3 separate regions of the Homo sapiens genome follow, and regions 2 and 3 are each linked to region 1. The links are contacts of gene promoters, found by promoter capture Hi-C in human tissues and cell types (Jung and others, 2019). All regions are on one chromosome and are shown on one strand. The core of a region is centred on a gene start or on the middle of the fragment in contact, and the rest is flanking DNA. Distances in the headings are between cores, read along the strand shown. Region 1 holds the start of POLR2E (RNA polymerase II, I and III subunit E). Region 2 overlaps DAZAP1 (DAZ associated protein 1). Region 3 holds the start of FSTL3 (follistatin like 3).

The links. Contacts are between HindIII fragments. The study calls those that stand out against the background at their distance.
Region 2: a contact is called between a fragment that was not itself captured here and the fragment with the promoter of POLR2E in region 1, in 1 of the 25 tissues and cell types used here (spleen).
Region 3: the fragment with the promoter of FSTL3 here is called in contact with the fragment with the promoter of POLR2E in region 1 in 2 of the 25 tissues and cell types used here (dorsolateral prefrontal cortex and lymphoblastoid cells).

What each region holds. Positions count from the first base shown.
Region 1 is chr19:1,094,125-1,097,264 of GRCh38, reverse strand. POLR2E (RNA polymerase II, I and III subunit E) reads left to right here and starts at 1,890. Exons shown (of 8, transcript NM_002695.5): 1 at 1,890-2,006. The coding sequence starts at 1,950. RefSeq lists enhancers at 1,857-1,946, 2,704-3,140. The HindIII fragment of the contact is 36,385 bases long and covers 1-3,140 here.
Region 2 is chr19:1,411,972-1,415,003 of GRCh38, reverse strand. The region is part of intron 1 of DAZAP1 (DAZ associated protein 1); the gene reads right to left. Among named protein-coding and RNA genes, the nearest start is that of DAZAP1, 5.9 kb to the right of the region's middle. The HindIII fragment of the contact is 3,172 bases long and covers 1-3,032 here.
Region 3 is chr19:674,577-677,875 of GRCh38, reverse strand. FSTL3 (follistatin like 3) reads right to left here and starts at 1,484. Exons shown (of 5, transcript NM_005860.3): 1 at 1,350-1,484; 2 at 1-84. The coding sequence starts at 1,452. The HindIII fragment of the contact is 14,894 bases long and covers 1-3,299 here.

The DNA of each region.
Region 1 (3,140 bases), core at 641-3,140:
AATTAGCCGGGCGTGGTGGCAGGTGCCTGTAGTCCCAGCTACTCGGGAGGCTGAGGCAGAAGAATGGCGTGAACCCGGGAGGTGGAGCTTGCAGTGAGCCGAGATCCTGCCACTGCACTCCAGCCTGGGGGACAGAGCGAGATTCCGTGTCAGGAAAAAAAAAAAAAGTAGCCCCTGACAGCCCCCCAAAAAGAATCTCAAATATCAGTGTAAAAAAGTCCGTGACTTACAACTAAAAATTACAAAACTACAACAAAGGGATCCTCCCCTCTCAGCTTCCCAAAGTGCTGGGATTACAGGTGTGAGCTATCGCGCCCAATGGGATTTTTTTTTTTTTTTCTCGATGGAGTCTTGCTCTGTCACCCAGGCTGGAGTGCAGTGGTGCGATCTCGGCTCACTGCAACCTCCGCCTCCCGGGTTCAAGTGATTCTCCTGCCTCAGCCTCCCGAGTAACTGGGAGTACAGGCACCCACCACCAAACCTGGCTAATTTTTGTATTTTTAGTAGAGACAGGGTTTCACCATGTTGGCCAAGCTGGTCTGGAACTCCTGATCTCATGCTCTGCCTGCCTCGGCCACCCAAAGTGCTGGGATTACAGTGATGAGCCACCACTGCTAATGGGATTTTTGCTTGAATCTATCCTCACTGTATTCCCTGACCTCCCCATGTGATACTGCAGTTCTCCCATTCTCCCCATGTCACTTAGCCTCCCTGCTCTTTCTTCTTCCGTAGCTTTGTCACTTTCTAACGTTGTTATTTATTTTATTTTATTTCATTTCATTTTATTTTTGAGACAGAGTCTTGCTCTGTTGTCCAGGCTGGAGTGCAGTGGCACGATCTTGGCTCACTGAAACCTCCACCTTACAGGTTCACGAGATTCTCCTGCCTTAGCCTCCTAAGTAGCTGAGACTACAGGCACCTGCCACCTGGCCCAGCTAATTTTTTGTATTTTTAGTAGAGACGGGGTTTCACCGTGTTAGCCAGGATGGTCTTGAACTCCTGATCTCATGCTCTGCCCGCCTCAGCCTCCCAAAGTGCTGGGATTATAGGCATGAGCCACCGCGCCCGGCCACGTTATTTATTATATTTTACTAAATCCTGTCTTTATCTGAATGCAAGGGATACTTGGCCTGTTTTATTCACCATCACTGTAGGTTGCTGAGTAAATGTTGAATTAACGAATGCATCACTGAATAAGTTACTGATAGCCTGCACACAGGAAGTGTTGGGCTGGGGTTCTCCGTGAACCTGGGGAAGTGAGGAGGTTTGCAAAGACAGGAAGAGTCTGGGGTGGGGAGATACCCAGGCTAGGCTGGGGAGATACCCAGGCTAGGCTGGTGGCGCTCAGGGGAGAGGACAGAGGTGAGGGGACTTAATAAGCACCTAGAGAGATGCCTAAGACTCTCAGTTAACCGTCTAAAGTAGGGACACTTTATTGCCATTGCACAGGTAGGGAAACTGAGGCCCAAGGGAATTAACCCTGACCTGGCCAGGAGCCAATGGAGGAAACCCTGTACAGTTTGATGCACAAATATTTATAGAGTTCCCACTAGGCTCCCAGACCATCCCTAGGAGCCGAGCTGCCCCTTGACCCCATCCAGGCCTCAGTTTCCCCGCTCACACTTCGCCCCCGCCTCGTGGGATTCTAAACTGTTGCTCCAAGGTGGGAGTTGAACGGAAACTACAACTCCCGAGAGGCTGTGCGGCCAAAGACACACGAGAACTACGGAGGCGAGAGACTCGCTCAGCCAACTGCCGCTCTCGTAAGGCTCGGGCTGCCCTTGGCGCTGCCGATCCGAGACGTTGCTGCATTCAGGCATTCGCCGACGACAGACCAGCGCGGGGCGGGGTTAGGCGGAGGGGGCCTGATTCGGATTCGGCGCAGGCGCAGTCCGCGCGGGTTCTCGCGCGGAGAAGGGGTGCGAGCGGCGGCGGCGGCGGAGGCTGCCATGGACGACGAGGAGGAGACGTACCGGCTCTGGAAAATCCGCAAGACCATCATGCAGGTGAGCCGCGCCTGGTGTTGGGGGCGGGGGCGCGGGCGGCGGGTGTAGGGGCCCGAGGTGGGGTCGAGCACGGCGTCTCCTCGTACTCTCGTCGGAGCAGCAGCGATGAAGGGCCGGGCCGATACGGGAGGCCCAGAGGTCGCCGGGGATACCAGGCGCTGGACCCGACCTGAGCCGGCAGCGGGGAAGGGAGGGGGTTTCGAGACGTCTGGGTGCGGTGCTTAGGGGTGGGTGGGCGGCTTGGGCTGGTGCGGCGCGCGTGGCGGCGAGAGGAGGAGGAAGCCGCGAATGGGGACGGGGGGCGCCCCCAGACTCTGCCCTTCTCTGTGATTCAGCGTCGCTATTTGTCCTTGCGTCCTGAACCCCATGGAGTCTTCAGCATCCGAGGCTGGCAGAGTTGGTGGTTGGGAAGCAGCGGGCGAGCTGGGGCTTTCGATGGGGACGTGGAGCTCGGAACCCGTGCCTTGGGGTCTGGGGCAGATGGAGGCCACTGGGTCGAGTCCGGTTTGGAAGCCGGGCACAGGCCTGAGGACCTGCGGTTCAGGGTATTGCCTCAGCCATTGGGGCCGTTTGAGAGCTTTTGCTTTGTCTTGCTTCCCACCCTTTGCCCTTGTCCTCAGCGAAGCCCCCCGCAGCCTGATTCTTCTTTCTCCGATCCTCAAACATTGTCAGCCTGAAGTCACATCTGTTTCGGTCCCTGTCATTTTTTTTTTTTAAGAGATAGGGTTTCATTCTGTCGCCCAGGCTGCAGTGCAGTGGTGCAATCATAGCTCACTGCATCCTTGAACTGGCCTCCAGCAACCCTCCTGCCTCAGCCTCCCTAAGTACTGGGATCACGGGCGTGAGCCTCCGCGCCCCGCCTTTGTCCCTGCCTTTAGGGTAGCTCTGCAAAGTGGTTTGGAGGGCTTTGCTCCCTGCCAGGTTTCTGTGAGGCTGGGTGGACAGACGGTCTTGGTCAAGGCTGGACATCTCTGGGAGCCTCTCAGGATCATACTGGTCCCATCCTGTGGTGTGAGGCTGTGGGGGCCGGGGTGGCTGTCATGGAGCACACAGTGAGTGTTCATCCCGTTTGCTGTTCACCTCTGTCCTCTGCAGCAGCCGCAGGTCTGACTTCCGGGTCACGAGCTTTGGCCG
Region 2 (3,032 bases), core at 276-2,775, 320 kb before region 1:
GCCTGGGCAACGTAACGAGACTCCAGGTGGTGGCAGGCACCTGTAGTCCCAGCTACTTGGGAGGCTGAGGCAGAAGGATCGTTTGAGTCAAGGTCGAGGCTGCAGTGAGCCGTGATTGTGTCACTGCACTCCAGCAGGGGTGACAGAGATCTCATCTCTTAAATAAAATTAAAAAAAAAATAAAAAATACTCTTAAATAAAATTAAAAAAATAAAAAATACTCAAATACAATTTTAAAAAATAATAAATACTTTCTCAATTTTTTTTTGAAAAATTGTCTCGCTGTGTTGCCCAGGCTGGAGTGTAGTGGCGCGATCTCAGCTCACTGCAACCTCCGCCTCCCGGGTTCAAGCGATTCTCCTGCCTCAGCCTCCCGAGTAGCTGGGACTACAGGCGCCCGCCAGCTAATTTTTGTATTTTTAGTAGAGACGGGGTTTCACCATATTGGCCAGGATGGTCTCAATCTCTTGACCTCGTGATCCACCAGCCTCGGCCTCTCAAAGTGCTGGGATGACAGGCGTGAGTAGCTGCGCCCGGCCACTTTCTCAATTTTGATCACTGTGCTGTGTTCATGTGAGAGAATGTCATTGTTCTTGGGAAACAATAGATATCTCAGTGTACACATAAAGGGGACTGCATCGGTCTCCAGCTACTCTCAAATATTTCAGTAGAAACACACACAGTGGGGATGGGTGCACTGGCTCACGCCTGTAATCCCAGCACTTTGCAAGGCTGAGGTGGGCGGATCACCTGAGGTCAGGAGTTCGAGACCAGCCTGGCCAACATGGCAAAACCCCATCTCTACTAAAAATACAAAAATTAGCTGGGCTCGGTGGTGCGCACCTGTAATCCTAGCCACTCGGGAGGCTGAGCTCGAGGTGTACTGCTTGAACCCGGGAGGCGGAGGTTGCACTGAGCCAAGATCAAGCCACTGCACTCCAGCCTGGGCGACAGAGTGAGGGTCCATCTAAACACACACACACACACACACACACACACACACACACACACACAGTTCACTGGGGGTGGGGCAAGAGGCACCACGTGCCAAAGGGTAAAATGTCAGCCAATGGTGAGTCTGGCAGGGCCAAGAGGATATGGGAATTTTTGTAATTTTCCTGTAAGTCAGAAGTTATATATACAATTATGGTATAAAAGACTTTCATTACTGAGAACAAGACAGAATTTCAGTTTCTTTTGAAACAAGTCTCAGTCCTTATGGAATCTGAGACAGCAACAGATAGCTTTCGTTTCACATAGCTGTGTCTGGAGCTCCCCACCGCAGGTGACCCGCCCGCCTCGGCCTCCCAAAGTGCTAGGATGACAGGCGTGAGGCACCGCGCGCGGCCACACTGTGTGTTTCTGTTGAGATATTTGAGAGCAGCTTCTAACGCTAAAGCTTCCTGTGTCCATGTGTCTTTTACTACCACTCAGGAGCCACCGGCGAACACCTTCTCCCTGGTCTACAGACAGAAGCCTCCGGGAAGTCCCGGAAAGCAGGGTCATCTCTTCAGTGGCAGGGACTGCCTCCAGGGCCCTGGCACAAAGTCCCTACTTCTGAATCTCAGGATGTTTTAATCAATAAAATAAGAAAGCTCCTGGCTGCCAACCTCACCAGGTCGTGAGTGAGAAGCCGGCACATCAGAAACATGCGGAGCCCTGGGCAGGCACCTCCCAGACACTGTCCATCAACTGCCCAGGCAGCAGAACCAACTCTCACACAAGTAAACGTCGGAGTCCAGGAAGCCGGGCGCGGGCAGAGGCCAAAAGGAGGAGCTGCTGGCTCTCGTGGGCTTGCTACGGGGCTGGCGGTCCGCTTGTCCTCAGCTCCAGGCTTGCTCAGCCTGCACCTTGGCTGGCGGCGTGTGGACTGAGGACGTTAACGGGGCAAGGCAACACTGGCCTACGCAGATGAAGGGGTCGGTGAGCAATGTGGCTCCTGCACCCTGCCTCTGAGGGGCCCGCTGGGTGGGAGAGTCATCACCCAGCTGACGGCATCTCCGACACTGGAAGTCGTGGCTCCTACAGACCTCACACCCCACAAACCCAAAAGGGGTGTTCTCATTAGTGGGGGAGGCGTGGGACGAGCTCCACTTCTTCCCTTGCAACCTGGAGTCCAGCGTGCAGTCTGCCCATCAAAGGTCATGATGAACATCTCCCAGGATCTGCAAGCCTGGCACCCAGGGCCTGCAGCTCGACACCTGGCAGGTGCTCAATCCACGGTGGCCGGCGCAGCCACCCTCTTCTGCCTGTTAAAGCAAAAGCCGTTTTGGATGGCAACCTCGCTTGCTGCGTGCCATTCGGGTGCCTGTGCGGTATTTATGCGTAAAGTCCATCTGCAGAGGCTTCCTCTGGCCTAGGCTGACCACAAAGAGCCCTGACCTCCTGGCAGCACCAGAGTGGGCTTCAAAAACCGGCGGCCAGCCCGGCCATTCGGGGCCAGCAGCCTCAATGGGGGCAGTTGGCAGGCGACCTTTCCCTTCCTGCTGGGCCGGGGGACCAAGCCAGGAGGAGCCTGCCTCCCCACAGACCCCACCTGGCTCTGGGCTCCGCCAGTCACACTCAGCTCCGTGCACAATCTCAAGAGGCAGAAGTCCAGGCCCAGTGGCGGCTGATGTGTGGGGAACCCTTCTCTTCTTCCAGAGCATCAGGAAGAGCCTCTAGGGACTTTCCTGCCCCTAAGACCAGGTGGGAAACCAGGACCACTTCACCCACTGCCTCAGGCCAGTGAGCCCAGCCCGCCCCTCCATAGCCTGGACTCCCTCTCCCCAGCAGGGTCAGATGCCCCCCCTCCAGCCCACGCCTGCAGGGTGTGGGGTCCACAGAACACAGGAGCGGTCCGTGAACTGGAACGCGCTGCTGTGTGCTGAAGGAGCCCCTGAATGCCCACATCCTGGGTGCTAACTGTGGTCACCCTCATCCTCTCCCTGCCAGCCCCGCCCTCCCAGGCGGACCAGTGTTCTCCTTGGCAACGCCTGGAGCCAAGCTGGAAGCTCAGCCTATAAGCATCTGTCGAATGACTGGCCTCTGCC
Region 3 (3,299 bases), core at 235-2,734, 420 kb after region 1:
CACAGCACTCGGCCCGGGTGACATCAGTCTGGAGCACCAGGCTGCAGGTGGCCTCCTGGCCCTGCTGGAGCCAGCAAACACCACCTGCGGGCCGGGGAACGGGGTGCTCTCCTGGGCCACTCCTGACACCCAGCTTCTGGCCCGCCCACAGATGCATGCAGGTGGTGCTGAGTAGTTACGCACGGAATGATCTACCCCCACCCAGGAAGAAGGGGCAGAAAACCACATGGGTGTCCCCACCCTGGCTCCAGAACCCTGGAAATGTCTCCTCCCCTCTGAGCTCCACGTGCCCCCCCCCACAGCCTCACCACCAACCCCCACCCACCCCAGGAGGTCCCTTCCCGTACCCTCCAAGCCCCCAGGCCAGGGGCTGGCACCCTGCCCAACCCCTCAAACACCACCAAACACCAGGCACTGGGCATGTCAGGGTCAGCAGGCCCTGGAGCCGCTTCTCCCGCCTCTGCCCTCTGTCTAGACAGCACCCGAGGGCGAGGGCACGCGGAGCCCCGCGCCTGGCAGCCCCCCCACCGCCTGGCCCGCCTCTTACTCACTCCAACTTGGGAACATTCCCCTTGCATGAGCTCACTGTCTCCCCAGGGACGTGGCCTTCGGGGAGGGGGCTCTGCTCTCCCTTTGGCGCAGGGCTGGGGTGGGGTGGGGCTGCAGGGATGGGGGGTGGGGAGCCAGAGAGCCCCCCATTTCTTCCCCCGTCCCTGGGGGCAGGAACGGCCACAGCCCCCATCCCAGAGCGCTTGCTGGTTCACAGACACTGCCAGGGACCAGCTTGTGGAACGCAGCACCTTGGCACCCATCATAGGAGGGGAAACTGAGGCCAGGAGTGGGGCCGTCTCCTGCCTGGCACCTCCCGGCAAGTCCCAGGTGTGAGACTCCATGCCCCGTCTACCCAGGACCCGGGAAAGCTCTCAGCCCCAGCTGGAGGGCCTGGCTCCCGACACCCAGCACTACCTCTCGGCACCAGGACCGACCCGGACGGTCGCGGCTAGAACCCTGGCTTTGCCTGCTACAGGCTGTGTGACCCTGAGCCTCAGTTTCCCCATCTGGAAGACGGAGATGAAGAGAGCTCCGGCACTATCGGGATGGCACAGGTTCAGGGAGGGGAGAGGTAGACACTAAGCGCTCAATAAATGTCAGCGGTCATTGTGATTAGAAACCTCTGCTCTGCTGACCTCTTGGTGACCCTCCTTCAGACCTTCCCGGCTCCAGCTTGCGCCGGACACCGCCCTCGCCCCCGCCGCCGCCGCCGCGCCCCCCGACGTCCCCCCGGCCGCATTCCGCGCAGCCCCACGTGGGTGGCCCGCCCCGCCCGCCCCTCTGGCCGCCCCACTCACCGGGCGCGGGGTTCCCCGAGCCCATGGAGCTCACGAAGCCCACGGCCCAAGCCAGGGCCCCCCAGGGCAGAGGCCAGAGTGGCCCTGGCGCCCCGGGACGCATGGCGAACGCAGAGACGGCAGCGGCACCGACTTCCCAGCGCGCGGCCGGCGCTCCCTATAAAGGTCCCGCGGGCCGCGGGCGGGGCGGGGCGCGGGGCGGGGCGCGGCGCGGGAGTGGCGGGGGCGAGGCCGTGTCCCGCGCGGGGTGGGCAGGCGCCGGGCCCGGCCGCTGCGGGGGGCAGTTGGGGGCGAGCGCCCGGGTCCCCTTCCGGAGCCAGAGAATGCATTTGGGGAGATGTGGCTGGACCCAGGGCGGAACCGGGACAGGGGTGTGGGTTCGAGGTGGTGGCAGCCTTTTGGGTGGATCGAGGGGCCGTCTCCAGGAATTAAAGTGGGTTTGGGGGTCTTCAGTTTCAGGGGTGGCGGTGAGGTAACGGGGACCCAAGAGGAGCACGTCTGTGGATCCCTGCATCCCGTTTCTGTGATTTGCATGTGGTCACTTTCATGGTCCAAGTGTGGTCTGAGCCCCCCAACCCGGCCTCCTTGTTCCCGACCCGCCCCACACACCCAAAACCTCAGCTGGATATGGTTCCCTGCTCACAGCGCGGGCCGCGCACCCGTCCACCTGGCCGCTGGAGCCGGCCTGTGGGTGGGGAGTGGTTGGGTGTGGGACAGAACGGGGTGCGGCCGGGACAGACCCAGAGACACAGCTCCTTCCAGCATCTCGGACAACAGCAGGCCTCGCCCAGCCACGGCCCCCAGGGAGGCCACTGCGTGTGTGTGTGTGTGTGTGTGTGTGTGTGCGCGCGCACGCCTGGCCTTTGTCCTGGGCCCCTGGGCAGCTCTGCCCCATCAGCCCTCCAAGCCTTTGCAGACATTCCCCCAGATCACCTCAACAAGAATGTTTACTAGGTTTTTTCCTCTCCCTCCAAGATTCAGCAAACACTGTTTCCAGCAGAGGCGTTTCCAACAATGTATGACAGCGACATCTGCGTGGGCCTGGAGGCGCTGCGCCCGAGGGGGCTTTCGTGCAGCCAGACACATTTCCTACTCTGGAGCTGATTCTGTCATGGGGGCCTCCAGATTTGTCAGGCGCCCTTGGCGAGCGCAGGGGAGCCCCTCTGTTCCTGCTTCTAGGGCATCAGTGAACATCTCTTTTGGCCAGAGGGACCCTGCGGGGTGCTGGGGTGCCACGGTGACCAAGGCAGACCCCATCACACCCTCACCGAGCTCCTGGTTTGGACAACAAAATGCAGAGACAAATTAATCTATAACTTCAAGGAGTGGTAAATGCTTTCAGGAAAATACAGAAGGTTGAGGTGGTGGAGAGCGGTTGGGTGTCTGCTGGGCATGCCTGTGTCTGGCCACTCGCTGTGCCGGCATTGCCCACCCCGCAGGTGGAAACGGACGTGTCCAGCAGCCCCACGGCACAGCCCCTTCTCTGGCCTGAGTGAGATCTGTGCCCACAGAAGACACACCTGTACCCTTTCCTCCACCTTAGCTGCCCAGCCTGTGTCCCCCAGCAGCCAGTGGCCAGGGGCCAAGTTCTGCCTTAGTGGCACTGAGGGGGGACACCCCGCCGTCTTGACCTGGCCTTGGCCTCTGGCATTTCCCCCGGGAATCTCCCCGGCTTGGGGAGCAGGGCAGGGACGGGACCCTGTATTCTCACTGAGGGGGGACACCCCGCCGTCTCGACCTGGCCTTGGCCTCTGGCATTTCCCCCGGGAATCTCCCCGGCTTGGGGAGCAGGGCAGGGACGGGACCCTGTGTTCTCACTGAGGGGGGACACCCCGCCGTCTCGACCTGGCCTTGGCCTCTGGCATTTCCCCCGGGAATCTCCCCGGCTTGGGGAGTGGGGCAGGCACAGGACCCTGTGTTCTCACTGACGGGGGACACCCCGCCGTCTCG